2 separate regions of the Homo sapiens genome follow, and region 1 is linked to region 2. Evidence: promoter capture Hi-C in human tissues and cell types (Jung and others, 2019). All regions are on one chromosome and are shown on one strand. The core of a region is centred on a gene start or on the middle of the fragment in contact, and the rest is flanking DNA. Distances in the headings are between cores, read along the strand shown. Region 1 has its middle 5.4 kb from the start of DPPA5. Region 2 holds the start of MTO1 (mitochondrial tRNA translation optimization 1).

What was found. Contacts are between HindIII fragments. The study calls those that stand out against the background at their distance.
Region 1: a contact is called between a fragment that was not itself captured here and the fragment with the promoter of MTO1 in region 2, in 2 of the 25 tissues and cell types used here (H1 embryonic stem cells and liver).

What each region holds. Positions count from the first base shown.
Region 1 is chr6:73,345,270-73,352,402 of GRCh38, forward strand. No RefSeq gene overlaps it. Among named protein-coding and RNA genes, the nearest start is that of DPPA5, 5.4 kb to the right of the region's middle. RefSeq lists enhancers at 2,712-3,216, 3,217-3,720, 3,721-4,225, 4,226-4,729. The HindIII fragment of the contact is 6,119 bases long and covers 21-6,139 here.
Region 2 is chr6:73,459,229-73,466,092 of GRCh38, forward strand. MTO1 (mitochondrial tRNA translation optimization 1) reads left to right here and starts at 2,509. Exons shown (of 12, transcript NM_012123.4): 1 at 2,509-2,843. The coding sequence starts at 2,627. It also overlaps the pseudogene RNU6-975P. RefSeq lists a silencer at 2,010-2,069 and enhancers at 2,502-3,347, 2,520-2,849, 2,920-2,979, 3,000-3,049. The HindIII fragment of the contact is 26,494 bases long and covers 1-6,864 here.

The sequences.
Region 1 (7,133 bases), core at 1,830-4,329, 110 kb before region 2:
TCGAACTCCTGACTTCAGGTGATCCGCCTGCCTCAGCCTCCCAAAGTGCTGGGGATTACAGACGTGAGCCACCTCGCTGGGCCTACTTACTGATTTGTGAGAATTATTTAACTACTCATGTATTAGCCACTTGCTCGTCCTTATATTGCTGATTTGCCCCTCACCCCACCTCATTTTGACTTTTTTAAAAGAATAGAGGCCAGGCACGGTGGCTTACACCTATAATCTCAGCACTTTGAGAGGCTAAGGTAGGCAGATTGCCGGAGGTCAGGAGTTCGAGACCAACCTGGCCAACATGGTGAAACCCCACCTCTACTAAAAATACAAAAATTAGCTGGGCGTGATGACACACACCTGTAATCCCAGCTACTCAGGAGGCTGAGGCAGGAGAATCGCTTGAACTGGGAGGTGGAGGTTGCTGTGAGCTGAGATTGTGCCACTGCCCTCCAGCCTGGGCAGCAGAGTGAGACTCCATCTCAAAAACATTAAAAATATAAAAAAAGAATGGGACTTTCCAATTTTTTTAGCTCCCTGATCTAGTATTATTTTGATTTATGATTTCTGCCTTTGATGTTGGGTTTACAGAAGCCTGATTATATAATTTATTATTTAAATATTTTTTTCTACCAGGTTTTTTTTTTTTTTTTTGAGACAGAGTCTTGCATTGTCATCCAGGCTGGAGTGCAGTGGCGCCATCTCAGCTCACTGCAAGCTCCGCCTCCCGGGTTCATGCCATTCTCCTGCCTCAGCCTCCCGAGTAGCTGGGACTACAGGTGCCCGCCACCACGCCAGGCTAGTTTTTTGTATTTTTAGTAGAGAAGGGCTTTCACCGTGTTAGCCAGGATGGTCTCGATCTCCTGACCTTGTGATCTGCCTGCCTCGACCTCCCAAAGTGGTGGGATTACAGGCGTGAGCCACTGCGCCCAGCCTTTTCTACCAGTTCTTACATTTACATTTTTAATTTATTTTTTAATTTATTTTTTAGAGACAGGCTCTTGCTCCATCACCCAGGCTGGAGTGCAGTGGTACAATCAGAGCTGACTGCCAGCTTCCAACTCCCGGGCTCAAGCAATCCTCCCACCTATCTCAGCTTTCCTGAGCAGCTGGTACTACAGGCATGTTCCACCACACCCAGCTAATTTCTTAATTTTTGTAGAGATCGCGTCTTGCTATGCTGCCCAGGCTGGTCTAGAACTCGTGGCCTCAAGCAATCCTTCCACCTTGGCCTCCCAAAGTGCTGAGATTACAGATGTGAGCCACAATTTTATTTTTAGTTTACAACAGGAACCTGGGGGTAGGGGGGTAAATCAAATAATCCTAAGTAATCATTAATCTTGGAAAATCAAGTTATAGGGCTTGAGTGAGAAGTGCCATCCTAACCAACCAACATCTTCTCATCACCCAGATGTCAGTAGGCTCTGCCAGCCTACCCCACCCACAAAATCACCATCCTGAACATGGGATAGCCCCTGACCCCAGCACTTGATTATCTGTATTCTTTAAAAGACAGATGGGTCTGGGACTCTTCTCATCAAAATTTACTAAAGCTTCAAAAAGAGATAAATTGTCTATCTGTTCCTCTTTTTAGTTCTTTTCCCTCCCACAGACCCCAAGCCCTATTTTCTTTTGCCCTAATACTCCTGTTTCTTTTGCCCTACTTGTCCCCATTAAATTCCCATGCCTGTGAAAGAAGTTTAGGCTAGGAGCCCTATGTTGCACATTTTCTTCTCCTTTTATAGTGGTACAATGAAATATTACAGTCATCTCTCCCTATCTGAGAGATTTGTTTCAGCACCCCCTCTCCCATACCAAAATCCACAGATGTTCAAGTTCTTAATGTAAAATGACATGTTTACATATAACCTATAAACATCCTCCCCTATACTTTTTAATAATCTCTAGATTACTAACAATACAAATGCTATGTAAATAGTTACATTGTATTGGGGTTTATTTGTATCTTTACTGTTGCATTGTTATTGTTTTCTTTCTGAATATTTTTGATGGGAGGTTGGTTGAATCCGTGGTTGCAGAACAGCGGATACAAAGGTTTGATCGTAGTTAATTTGGCTCTTTTGTTTTGTTTTACAGTACTGCTCCTTGCAGAACAGGGCTAACTCATGGGCAGTGATCCCAGGGTCAGCTAATTTGGCATTTTCATGAGGGTAAATCTTATCTATCCCCAATGCAACAATATTTAGACTGTTGAAGCTAGAAGGAAAAGAGGAATCCCATGAAACTAAGACCAGCTTTTGAGAATTGGAGTGAAGTTTGGAAAACCTGGTCCTTCCCTTTCTGCAGCAGAGATTGCAAAATGGCTACAAGACTTGGTGCAGCAGCCCCTCTCTGGACAAATTCCAACGCTGGAATTCTAGTGCCATACAGATAACTCCTCGAAAAAAATATTTCTGCCTCTGATTAGTTACCATACAATTTAATATTCCAAATTTCTTTCATGTAAGTAACACCCCAGACACTTGTTTTCTGAAAATAGTCTCTGAAATCCTGAAAATGTTCGTGGGCCACATTGTCATTTTTGTTTTCTTCCTAAAACACCACTCCTGAGTATGTAGCAAAGCAGACACTCAACAAATATATATTTAAATTTTTTCTTTTTTTTTTTTTTTTTTTTTTTGAGGAGTCTAGCTGTGTCGCCCATGCTAGAGCACAGTGGCGCAATCTTGGCTTACCACAACCTCTGCCTCCTAGGTTCAAGCAATTCTCCTGCCTCAGCCTCCCGAGTAGCTGGGATTACAGGCGCCCTCCACCACACCCAGCTTTTTTCTATTTTTAGTAGAGACGGGGTTTCACTATGTTGGTTAGGCTGGTCTCGAACTCCTGACCTCGTGATCCGCCCACCTCAGCCTCCCAAAGTGCTGGAATTACAGACGTGAGCCACCGCGCCCGACCTTCAACAAATATTTCAATAATGCCATTCAACAAATGAGTCGATGGGAACAGTGGAGAGACAGGGCAGAGCCATTAGAGAAGAATCAGAATCCAAACTGATCCTAGGATCCTAGCTGCCAGGGACAGGGAAACAGCTTATCTGAGTGGTTCCGGGTGGTTCCATAGTCACCTCCTGCTCAAAACCTTTGGATGGGTTACCTTTGCTCTCTGCAAGGTCTGCGAGGCCCCGGGGGGAACTGCCTCGCTCCCGTTCCGGCCATGCCCCAGCCGGCTCAACCTTCTGGCCTAGCCACCATCCTGTTCCCAGGGCTGCACTTCCCTTCCTCCTCGCCTGGCTCACTGCTGCCGGTCACTCAGATCTCACCCAAGGTGACTTCCTTGGGGGACCGTCCCTGACCTCCCTGCCCAGGTCTAGTCTCCAACATTTCAGCCTCCCAGCACAGCACCGGTGTTCATTTCTCGGATTCTTACATCCATGTGGCTCCTAACCAGACCGGAAGCTCCCGGAGGGCCCGCCTGTCTACAGAGGTTGGGAGACTTGCTCCAGACCACCCTGCAGGTGGCTTCAGTCCCAGGAGACCTAACAGCGCCTGCCTCGGAGCCCACTTGGGAATGAGTTGGGCATAGGTGACCCCGCGGGGCCCTGCGAGGAACACCCACACCCACTCTGGCTTCCCCTCTCCCGCTCTATCAGCCCACCCAAAGGGTAAAAAGTCTCATAGGGCCCGGAAGGGCGCGGTGGCTCACGCCTGTAGTCCCAGCATTCTGGGAGGCCGAGGCGGGCGGATCACCTGAGGTTAGGAGTTGGAGACCATCCTAGCCAACATGGCAAAACCCGGTCTCTACTCAAAATACAAAAATTAGCCGGGCACGCCGGCGCGCGCCTGTAATCCCAGCTACCTGGGAGGCTGCGCAAGAGAATCGCTTGAACCCGGGTGTTGGAGGTTGCAGTGAGCCGAGATCGTGCCACTGCACTACAGCCTGGCAACAGAGTGAGACTCCGTCGCAAAAAATAAATTAAAAATAAAAACATTTCATAGGGCCCCCAAAGAAATCACGTATACATTTAAATGTAAGACATAAATACCGGGAGGTGGTGTGATTGGTGGGATCTCAATTTCCTTAAATGGACAATGAGAATATTTTGAGAATTCAGTTAATAAAAGAGCCCAGCTTCTAGCCCCGCGGAGCTAGAAGCTCTCAATCAGCGTTAGCTATTGTTATTATTATTAGCCACTTTAGGGTTGGAGGATTACACTTGATTGGGTGTTTATCGCTTGTTATTTAAAGGCTTTCTTGGACTAAGCACTTGTTTTATCTCCTCTCCAAAACTCTTCCATCCCATTGTCAGACCCTCCTTAGGGCAGACCCCTCTCATCTGCATTACAAGAAAGCTTGAGGTTTCCTGTAATTGTCGCACTTAACCTTGGTGGAAAGCTGATCACCAGCTGCAAACTCAAAGAAAGAAATCCGCTCCAAGGCAAACCACCTTCAGACTTTTACTTCCAAAATTTTACCTATGAATTTTCTTAAAGTATTTTATTGCTGTTATTTTTGGTTTGGGGGATTGGGAAAGGGGAGCTGAAAAATTTTCAGTCCAGGACTTGCATGGAATTTATGGCAGATTCTTAAATTTCCCTCTTTTGCTACCATAATTGATACCTACTCAAAGTTTTCTGCATTTAGAAACTCTGCCTTTAAGAGGGAACTCTAGGCCAGGCACGGTGTCTCATACCTGTACGCTCAGAGCTTTGGGAAGCCAAAGCAGGTGGATCGCTTAAGATATTGAGTTCAATACCAGCCTGGCCAACATGGTGAAAACCCATGTCTACTACAAATACTGAAGAAAAAAAAAAAAAAAAAAAAGCTGGACATGGTGGTGCATGCCTGTGATCCCAGCTACTGGGGAGGCTGAGGCAAGAGAATCACTTGAACCTGGGAGGCAGAGGCTGCAGTGAGCCGAGATCATGCCACTGCATTCCAGCTGAGTGACAGAGACTCTGTTTCCAAAAAAAAAAAAGAGAGAGAGAGAAAGAATTCTAGACTTAAAGGACAAGGCTGTTAGTTTTATGTGCTTGATTTACACTGCAGAATTGGGGTTTCAAAAGTATCTGGTCTACATTCCCACATAGAGTCTTTCATGGCCAACTGATTCTCTGAAGGGTGCACTAGATGAGGGTCATCTGAGGGTGCTAACAACCAACTGTTAGTCCATAAAGCAAATTCAAGCTATCAGCACAAAAGACAGGGAAACTTCATCAGATTCAACAAAAAAGGGTGAGGCAATGGGGAAATAGGCAATCTCTATGATAATATTTAGCAAAATTATGTTTTTCCCCTTTGGACCAGCAATTCTCCCTCTGGGAATTTAACCTACAGACATACTACTGGCAGACTTGCAAAACAGTGGTATTGTTTTGGGCACAGTGGCTCACACCGTTAATTCCAGCACTTTGGGAGGCCAAGGCGGGTGGATCACCCGAGGTCAGGAGTTGGAGACCAGTCTGGCCAATATGGTGAAACTCCATCTCTACTAAAAATACAAAATTAGCAGGGCGTAGTGGCCCACACCTGTGATCCCACCTACTCAGATGGCTGAGGGAGGAGAATCGCTTGAATCCAGGAGGCAGAGGTTGCAGTGAGCCAAGATCACGCCATTACACTGCAGCCTGTGACAAAAGCAAAACTGTCTCAAAAAAAAAAAAAAAAGTTATTCAAAGTATTCATCTCATCTTTGTAAAAGCAAAAGATTGGGAATAAACTCAAAAGTCATTTTGTAGAGAATTAAATTGAATAATACCCAGCTGTAAAGGAGGGAAAATAATCTACACGTATAATTCCTTATATTTTTTAAAAACTCTTGAATGGACATTCAAGAAAATATTGCTTATTTTTGGGAAGTAGGAAATGTATGATATGAAATGAGATAGGAGGGAGACTTCTATCATTTTAGATTTTTTTTTTTTTGAGACAGTTTCCTTTCGCCCAGGGTGGAGTACACTGGTACGATCATAGCTCACTGTAACCCCAAGTTCCTGAACTCAAGCGAACCTCCTGCCTCAGCCTCTTGAGTAGTTAGGCCTACAAGCATGTGCCACTGTGCCCAGATAATTCTTTTTTTTTTTTTTTTTTTTTTTTTGAGACAGAGTTTCTCTGTCACCCAGGCTGGAGTGTAGTGGCACGGTCTTCCTCAGCCTCCCAGGTTCAAGCGATTCTCCTGCCTCAGACTTCCACATAGCTGGGACTACAAGCACCCGCCACAACGCCTAGCTAATTTTTGTATTTTTAGTAGAGACGGGGGTTTCATCATGTTGGCCAGGTTGTCTCGAACTCCTCACCTCGTCATCCACCCACCTTGGCCTCCCAAAGTGCTGGGAATACAGCCGTGAGCCACCACGCCTGGCCTTCCTTCAAAATCTTGAGCAGGAGCCAGGCTGAGTGGTCTAGGACCTTCCAGCCACAGGTCTCAGGGCTGGGACGGGGGAGGGTAAAAATGCCAATAGGGTACGTGACTGATCCCTTGGTCTCCACTCCAAATAAAGCTCAATAGCATGCCAAATGTGCCTTTGTCTTCTCAGGGACCCACAAGTGGTATGGCATCTAATGGTCCCAGAAACTGCACCCAGGACTTCCAGGGGGTAGAAAAACAATGCATTTACAAGACTTTCATGGCCCTCCCTCTGAGTCTTCAATGATGAGAACCTTAGAGGATAGGACTGGAAGCTGGAGTCCCTCCTCCCTCAGAACCTGTAATACAGGAGTCTACTCCAGTCCTGCAGTAGAGGAAGAGTAGCCTATTATTCATACATTCAAGAAATAATGCCCATTGTGTCAGACATTGTTTTAATACTTCGCAGATTTAGGACATAGTCTTATCTCATTTAATCCTCACTGCAACCCAATGAGGTAGATATAATTATCCCCATATTACAGGTGGAGAACTGAAGCACAAAGGCTAACATATGCCTGGTTCCCCAGCTAATAAGTAGCTGAGTTAAGATTCAAACCCAGGTATTCTAGCTGCTGTCCGTTTCTTACAACACTATCCTTAACCACTATGTACTATACCATATTGCCCCTCTTAAGAACAACAAAAAAATCAATGTCCCTGCCTTGTTGGGGTTTAAATCTTAGGAGTAGAGAGGAGGAAAATGACCAGTTAACACTATCGGTCGAGTTTATAAATGCCATAAAGAAAAAATAAAGCAGGTTAAGCAGACTGT
Region 2 (6,864 bases), core at 1,259-3,758:
TAGAGATAGAGTTTCGCCATATTGGCCAGGCTGGTCTCAAACTCCTGGTGGACTCAAGTGATCCGCCACCTTGGCCTCCCAAAGTGTTGGGATTACAGGTGTGAGCCACCACTCCCGGCCTATGTATTTAATACTTTTTATAATTAGAACAATAAAACTGCCACACTGTAGGGAGACCCCTGAAACTATTGCTACGGAATAAAAGATGAAATGCTCCTGATTATTGTAAATACAAAGTTGCATGCAGGATTGTGTAAAGAGAATGCCAGGTTGGACTGCCAGAATGAGCCAACAGCGGGTGATGTGCTTCCCCCTGCAGAGAGCCTATGAACGGACGTGCATCACCAAGATTCCTATCCCAGAAAAGCAGATGTTCATAGCTCTGGGAATGGAATGCAACCCTTGTGGAAAGCCTCTAAACGGACGCATGAGGGGCGCCTGTCCCTGTGGGTAAGATAGGGCTATAAATGCCCTCATCTTGCCACGGCTCTTCTAGGCCTTTTTAGGGTTAAGGCATACTCCCTTCTGAGAATTTCTGGTCTAACTGATTGTCTAGCTTCACATCCTGTTTCTATGGATTGTTTGTAACCAGCTTTTGCTGCAACTGTTACTGCTGATTAATATCTTGCTAATCATAGGTTATGGAAAGACTGTTTCTGTTTTAAGGCTCTGTTAGAAATTACTGATGCACACAATATATTGTAAATTCTTATCTCTGTATACTGTACTTCTGCATACAGATGTTATGTTAAAGAATTACTTCATCCCCATGTGACCATCTCACCTCATAATCAAATGACCCTAAATCCCTCACTAACCTACCCCTGCCCTCACTAAACTTAATAATAAATGCTGGTATATCCAGTGTATTAGCAGCATTGCAGGACCAGAAGGCAGTGACCCCCCTGGACCCAGCTTTCAATATCTTCTGTGTGTCTATTATTTCTCGACCTGCCAATCCGCCTGGGAACAAAGAAAGAGCCCCATTGCATTGTGGGCTGCTGGCCAGATCCTGCAATACCACACTTGTTTTATTCTCCAGTCAAACGTTGCCTTTCTGAGAAAGGCTGTGAATTGAGAAAGGCTGTGAATTCCAAAAGGCTGGACATTTAACCTCCAACCAACCGATTCTTCTAATTAACCAATTAGCCATCATGAATCTCTCTCTCTCTTTTTTTTTTTTTTGAGACAGAGTCTCACTCTTGTCGCCAGGCTGGAGTGCAGTGGCACGATCTCGGCTCACTGCAACCTCTGCCTACGGGTTCAAGCAATTCTCCTGCCTCAGCCGCCCAAGTAGCTGGGACTACAGGTGCATGCCACCACACCTGGCTAATTTTTTTTTTTGTATTTTAGTACAGACGGGGTTTCACCATGTTGCCCAGATTGGTCTCGAACTCCTGAGCTCAGGCAATCTGCCCCCTTCGGCCTTCCAAAGTGCTAGGATTACAGGCGTGATCCACCATGCCCAGGCACCATCATGAATCTTTCAGTCCACAAATATATTTGAACTCCTTTCGAATCTATTCTTTTTCTTTTCTTTTTCTTTTTTTTTTTTTGAGACGGAGTCTTGCTCTGTCGCCCAGGCTGGAGTGCAGTGGCACAATCTTGGTTCACTGCAACCTCGGCCTCCCAGGTTCAAGCGATTCTCCTGCCTCAGTCTCCTGAGTAGCTGGGATTACAGGTGCATGCCACCACTCCCGGCTAATTTTTTTTTTTTTTTTTTTTTTTTTTTTTTTTAGTAGCGATGGGGTTTCACCATGTTGACCAGGATGGTCTCCATCTCCTGACCTTGTGATCCACCTGCTTCGGCCTCCCAGAGTGCTGGGAATACAGGCGTGAGCCACCGCGCCCGGCCCGAATCTATTCTTATTTTCAGCCCTTAGTTTTTATAGACAAACAGAAGGTGACGGTGTATCAGATTGTCAGATCACAAAGATCTGATAAGGCAAAGTGATCAAATTCATTGATCGTAGGTGGCCACCTGGCGATAAGGACTGCAGGGCCTAAGAAAGTACAAAAGATGACCTTTAGTAGGAGCTCCCAACCCAGAACCACAGGAAATCAAAAAAAGCCCGCACGGGCGGATCACGAGGTCAGGAAATCGAGAACATCCTGGCTAATACGGTGAAACCCAGTCTCTACTAAAAATACAAAAAATTAGCCGGGCGTAGTGGCGGGCGCCTGTAGCCCCAGCTACTCGGAGGCTAAGGCAGGAGAATGGCGCGAACCCGGGAGGGGGAGCTTGCAGTGAGCCGAAATCGCGCCACTGCATTCCAGCCTGGGCAACAGAGCGAGACTCTGTCTCAAAATAAATAAATAAATAAATAAATAAATAAATAAATAAATAAATAAATAAATAAATAAATAAAAATAAAAAATAATAATAATAAAAAAAGCCCGCACGAACTAGGAAAGAAAATACACAACCGGCCCTCCGTGCGATCACCCATCTCCCTCACCAGGAAAGTAGCTCCAAACCGCCAATCAGCGGCGACGCTGGACGTAGACGTCCTACCCCGTGATATTAAAGCAAGATGGCCGCGCCCTGCAGATTGTCTCTTGTTGCGTAAGTTTTTTTGACCGTCACTCGTGTCAGCTTCAAAGTCAGATAGATTTTTCTCCCAGCATGTTCTACTTCCGAGGCTGTGGCCGTTGGGTCGCGGTTTCCTTCACCAAGCAGCAATTTCCGTTGGCACGGTTGAGCAGTGACAGCGCGGCGCCCCGGACTCCGCACTTCGACGTGATAGTCATTGGTGGAGGACATGCCGGGACTGAGGCAGCCACCGCCGCCGCTCGGTGCGGCTCTCGGACTCTGCTCCTCACTCACCGCGTGGACACGATCGGTGAGGAGCGCGGGTGCTGTGGAACTTGGCGTAGGACGCAGGCTGCTTCCTTCCCGCCTCCCCCGGTCTGAAGCGGGGGACCTCTTCCTTTCCTCAAAGCTAGTGAGAATCCTACCTTCTGTGGTTTTAGCCTCGATCAGTGTCTCGCAAGGATCAGGCGGGCCAGGCCAGAACTCTATATTAGTCTATTCTGCGAACCATAGATTATGCTGCTGCTGACAGTCGTCCGTTGTAGGAGGTTGGGGTTCGGGGTCAGTGCCTTGGGAAAGGGAGCTACCAACTACTCGCTGGTAGCTTCTTAGTTCATTGCTGCGTTTACCTTCTACTATGTTACTCCAGATAAAGGGTGAATTAACATTATTAACAATGGTTTATGGCCAGGTGCAGTGGCTCACTTCTTTAATCCCAGCACTTTGGGATGCCAAGGCAGGTGGATCACCTGAGGTCAGGAGTTTGAGACCAGCTTGGCCAACACGGCGAAACCCCGTCTCTACTAAAAATACAAAAATTAGCCGGGCATGGTGGCGGGCGCCTATAATCCCAGCTACTCGGGAGTCTGAGGCAGGAGAATCGCTTGAACCCGGGGGCAGAGGTTGCAGTGAGCCGAGATTGCGCCACTTCACTCCAGCCTGGGCAAAAGAGCAAAACTCCGTCTCAAAATAATGATAATATTAATAAAATAAAAAAATCCTTTATTAAACGGTTCTTGTGTTTTTATTTAAAAACATTTTTTTAGAGACAGGGTCTCGCCATGTTGCCCAGGCTGGAGTGCAGTGACTACTCATAGGCACGATCGTTGCACATTACAGGCTCCGCTTTCTGGACTCAAGAACTTTTCCTGCCTCTGCCTAACCAGTAGCTGGGATTGCAGGTGCTCAGTACTCTGCCCAGCCTGATCTTTGTGTTTCTGTCAAGATTTTGTGATGCCTTTTGGAAGAACCATGCTACCTTTTTTTTTTTTTTTTCTTTTGAGACAGAGTCTTGCACTGTCACACAGGCTCAAGTGCAGTGGCGCCATCTCGGCTCACTGCAAGCTCCGCCTTCCGGGTTAATGCCATTCTCCTGCCTCAGCCTCCCGAGTAGCTGGGATTACAGGCACCCACCACCACGCCCGGCTAATTTTTTTTTTCTTTGTATTTTTAGTAGAGTCGGGGTTTCACCATGTTAGCCAGGATGGTCTCGATCTCCTGACCTTGTGATCCGCCCGCCTCGGCCTCCCAAAATGCTGGGATTACAGGCATGAGCCACCGTGCCCAGCGCCATGCTACCTTTTGCATCCTATATTCCTTCTGGGTTGTCGTCCCTGGATTTTGTGTTTAGTACTGGACAGTACTTTTTTTGCTCTAATGGGTAATGGTTGGATGGCCGTTCTGTAGCATCATGATAGATACTAGCTAAAACATCAACTTGTAAATTATGTATACTTTTGTCTTTCCTCCTTCCTTTTGCTTAGGAGCGAGCAGTAATTAGAATATTTACTTGTTTTGTAAAAGTTGTGAATAAATCACTTATTTATTCCTGAAATTCTTCTTTAAAATAACCATTCAGCTCATAACTGTGAAGAAATATATACTATTAACTGCGGTTTTGTGGGTGGGGGAGAGGAGGCTATATGATTTCCTAAAAGATTATACTTTTCTCATCATACATTCAGGTGGGTTTTTTCTTTTCTTTTCTTTCATTTTTGAGACAGAGTTTTGCTGTTGTTGACCAGGCTAGAATGCAGTGGCGCGATCTTGGCTCACTGCAACCTCCACCTCCCGGGTTCAAGCGATTTCCTGCCTCAGCCTCCCAAGTGGCTGGGATTAGAGGAGTCTGCCACCACGCCCAGCTAATTTTTTGTATTTTTAGTAGAGATGGGGTTTCATCATGTTGGCCAGGCTGGTCTCCAACTCCTGACTTCAGGTGATCCACCCGTGTCAGCCTCCCAAAGTGCTGGGATTACAGGTGTGAGCCACCACACCTGGCCTGTTGTTTATATTTTTAAAAAATAAAGACCTAGTGCTTGCTTTGGCAACAACATAAACTAAAGTTGGAATGATATAGGGATTAGCATAGCCCCTGCACAAGGATGATGCACAAATTTGTGAAGTGTTCCATATTTTTAAAAAATAATAATAAAATAAAGACCTAGGCCAGGGGTGATTACTCACGCTTGTAATCCCAGCATTTGGGGAGCCCAGGAGTCTTCTATTTCAAAGGAAGAAGGAGGAAAATAATCTACCACAGCTGTCATTCCTGTTTTTACAGTAGAGAGACTAAGGTATGTTAGGTAACTTGCCATGATCACAGAGCTCATAAGTGGTAGGTCTAGAAATTGAGCCAGATATCTCTTTCACACACACTCCTCATAATGACACTTCATGCTCATAATCACAGTGCTATCCAGTCTCCCTGTGGAGACCATTAAAACTTGTGGAGGTCTTGTCTGGGCATGGTGGCTCATGCCTGTAATCCCAGCAGTTTGGGAGGCAAAGGCGGGCAAATCACCTGATGTCGGAAGTTCGAGACCAGCCTGACCAACATGGAGGAACCCTGTCTCTATTAAAAATAGAAAATTAAACACCCAAGAATGATCAATAAATACTAAAAAAAAAAAAAAAAAGAAAGAAAATTAGCCAGGCGTGGTGGCGTATGCCTGTAATCCCAGCTACTTGGGAGGCTGAGGCAGGAGAATCACTTGAACTCGGGAGGTGGAGGTTGCAGTGAGCTGAGATCGTGCCATTGCACTCCAGCCTGGGCAACAAGAGCGAAACTCTGTCTCAAAAAAAAAAAAAAAAAAAAAAAAAACTTTTGGAGGTCTTGATTCTTGATGTGGTGGCAGTGGATATGTGGATATTGACATAACTTGCCCATCCCTCCACCTCCCACAAAAACTTTTGAGGTAACCACATGGGTTTAGACCTCCAGGTAAGACTGGGTAAATGTAAGGGAAAGGTATAAAATATGGTCTTCACTCACAAGAAATTTGTAATTTAATTATATTTAATTCTGCAAAGTAAGTGCAAAAAGGAGATATCAGATGGCATTTATGGAAGACATAATTGGTTGTAACTGAACCAGTGCCAAGGGGCTTCTTTGTTTTTTCTTTTTTCTTTTCTTTTTTTTTTTGAGATGGAGTCACTGTTGTCACCCAGGGTGGAGTGCGATGGTGCCATCTCGGCTCACTGCAACCTCAGCCTCCCAGGGTCAAGCGATTCTTTTGCCTCAGCCTCCCAAGTAGCTGGGATTACAGGTGCAAACTGCCATGCCTGGCTATTTTTTTGTATTTTAGTAGAGACGGGGTTTCACCGTGTCGCCCAGGGTGGTCTCAAACTTCTGAGCTCCAGCAATCCACCCTCTTTGGCCTCCCAAAGTGCTAGGATTACAGGCGTGAGCCACCACACCCGGCCCTGTTTTTTATTTATTTATTTATTTTTGTCCTTATTTATGTTGAAGGACTAGGGACTTCTTACAAGTGTGCTTGATTTGGTAGATTCCTCTGGTGCTGTATCAAAAAAGAACAAATTTAAAAACCAAGTATACTTGGTTTAGAAAGGTTTCATGGGGTAAGGATTACATGTTTGAAAGGAAAAGGCAACCTAGTGAAACAGTAAAAATATGCATCAAGGAAGAGATTCAAAAGAAAGTTCAGGCCGGGCGCGGTGGCTCACGGCTGTAATCCCAGCACTCTGGGAGGCCGAGGTGGGCAGATCACCTGAGGTCAGGAGTTTGAGACCAGCCTGGTCGACATGGTGAAACCCGTCTACCAAAAATACAAAAATTAGCCAGGCGTGGTGCCGGACACCTGTAATCCCGGCTACTCGGGATGCTGAGGCAGGAGAATCGCTTGAACCCAGGAGGCAGAGGTTGCAGTGAGCCGAGATTGTACCACTGCACTCCAGCCTGGGTGACAGAGTGAGACTCCATCTTAAAAAAAACAAAAGGAAGTTCAGGAAGTGGTTTGTCATCCAGGTTGCCCTGGACACTTTTGCATCCCATTGGGTCTTTGGGATTTTCTTTGTAGTATATCTTTCACGTT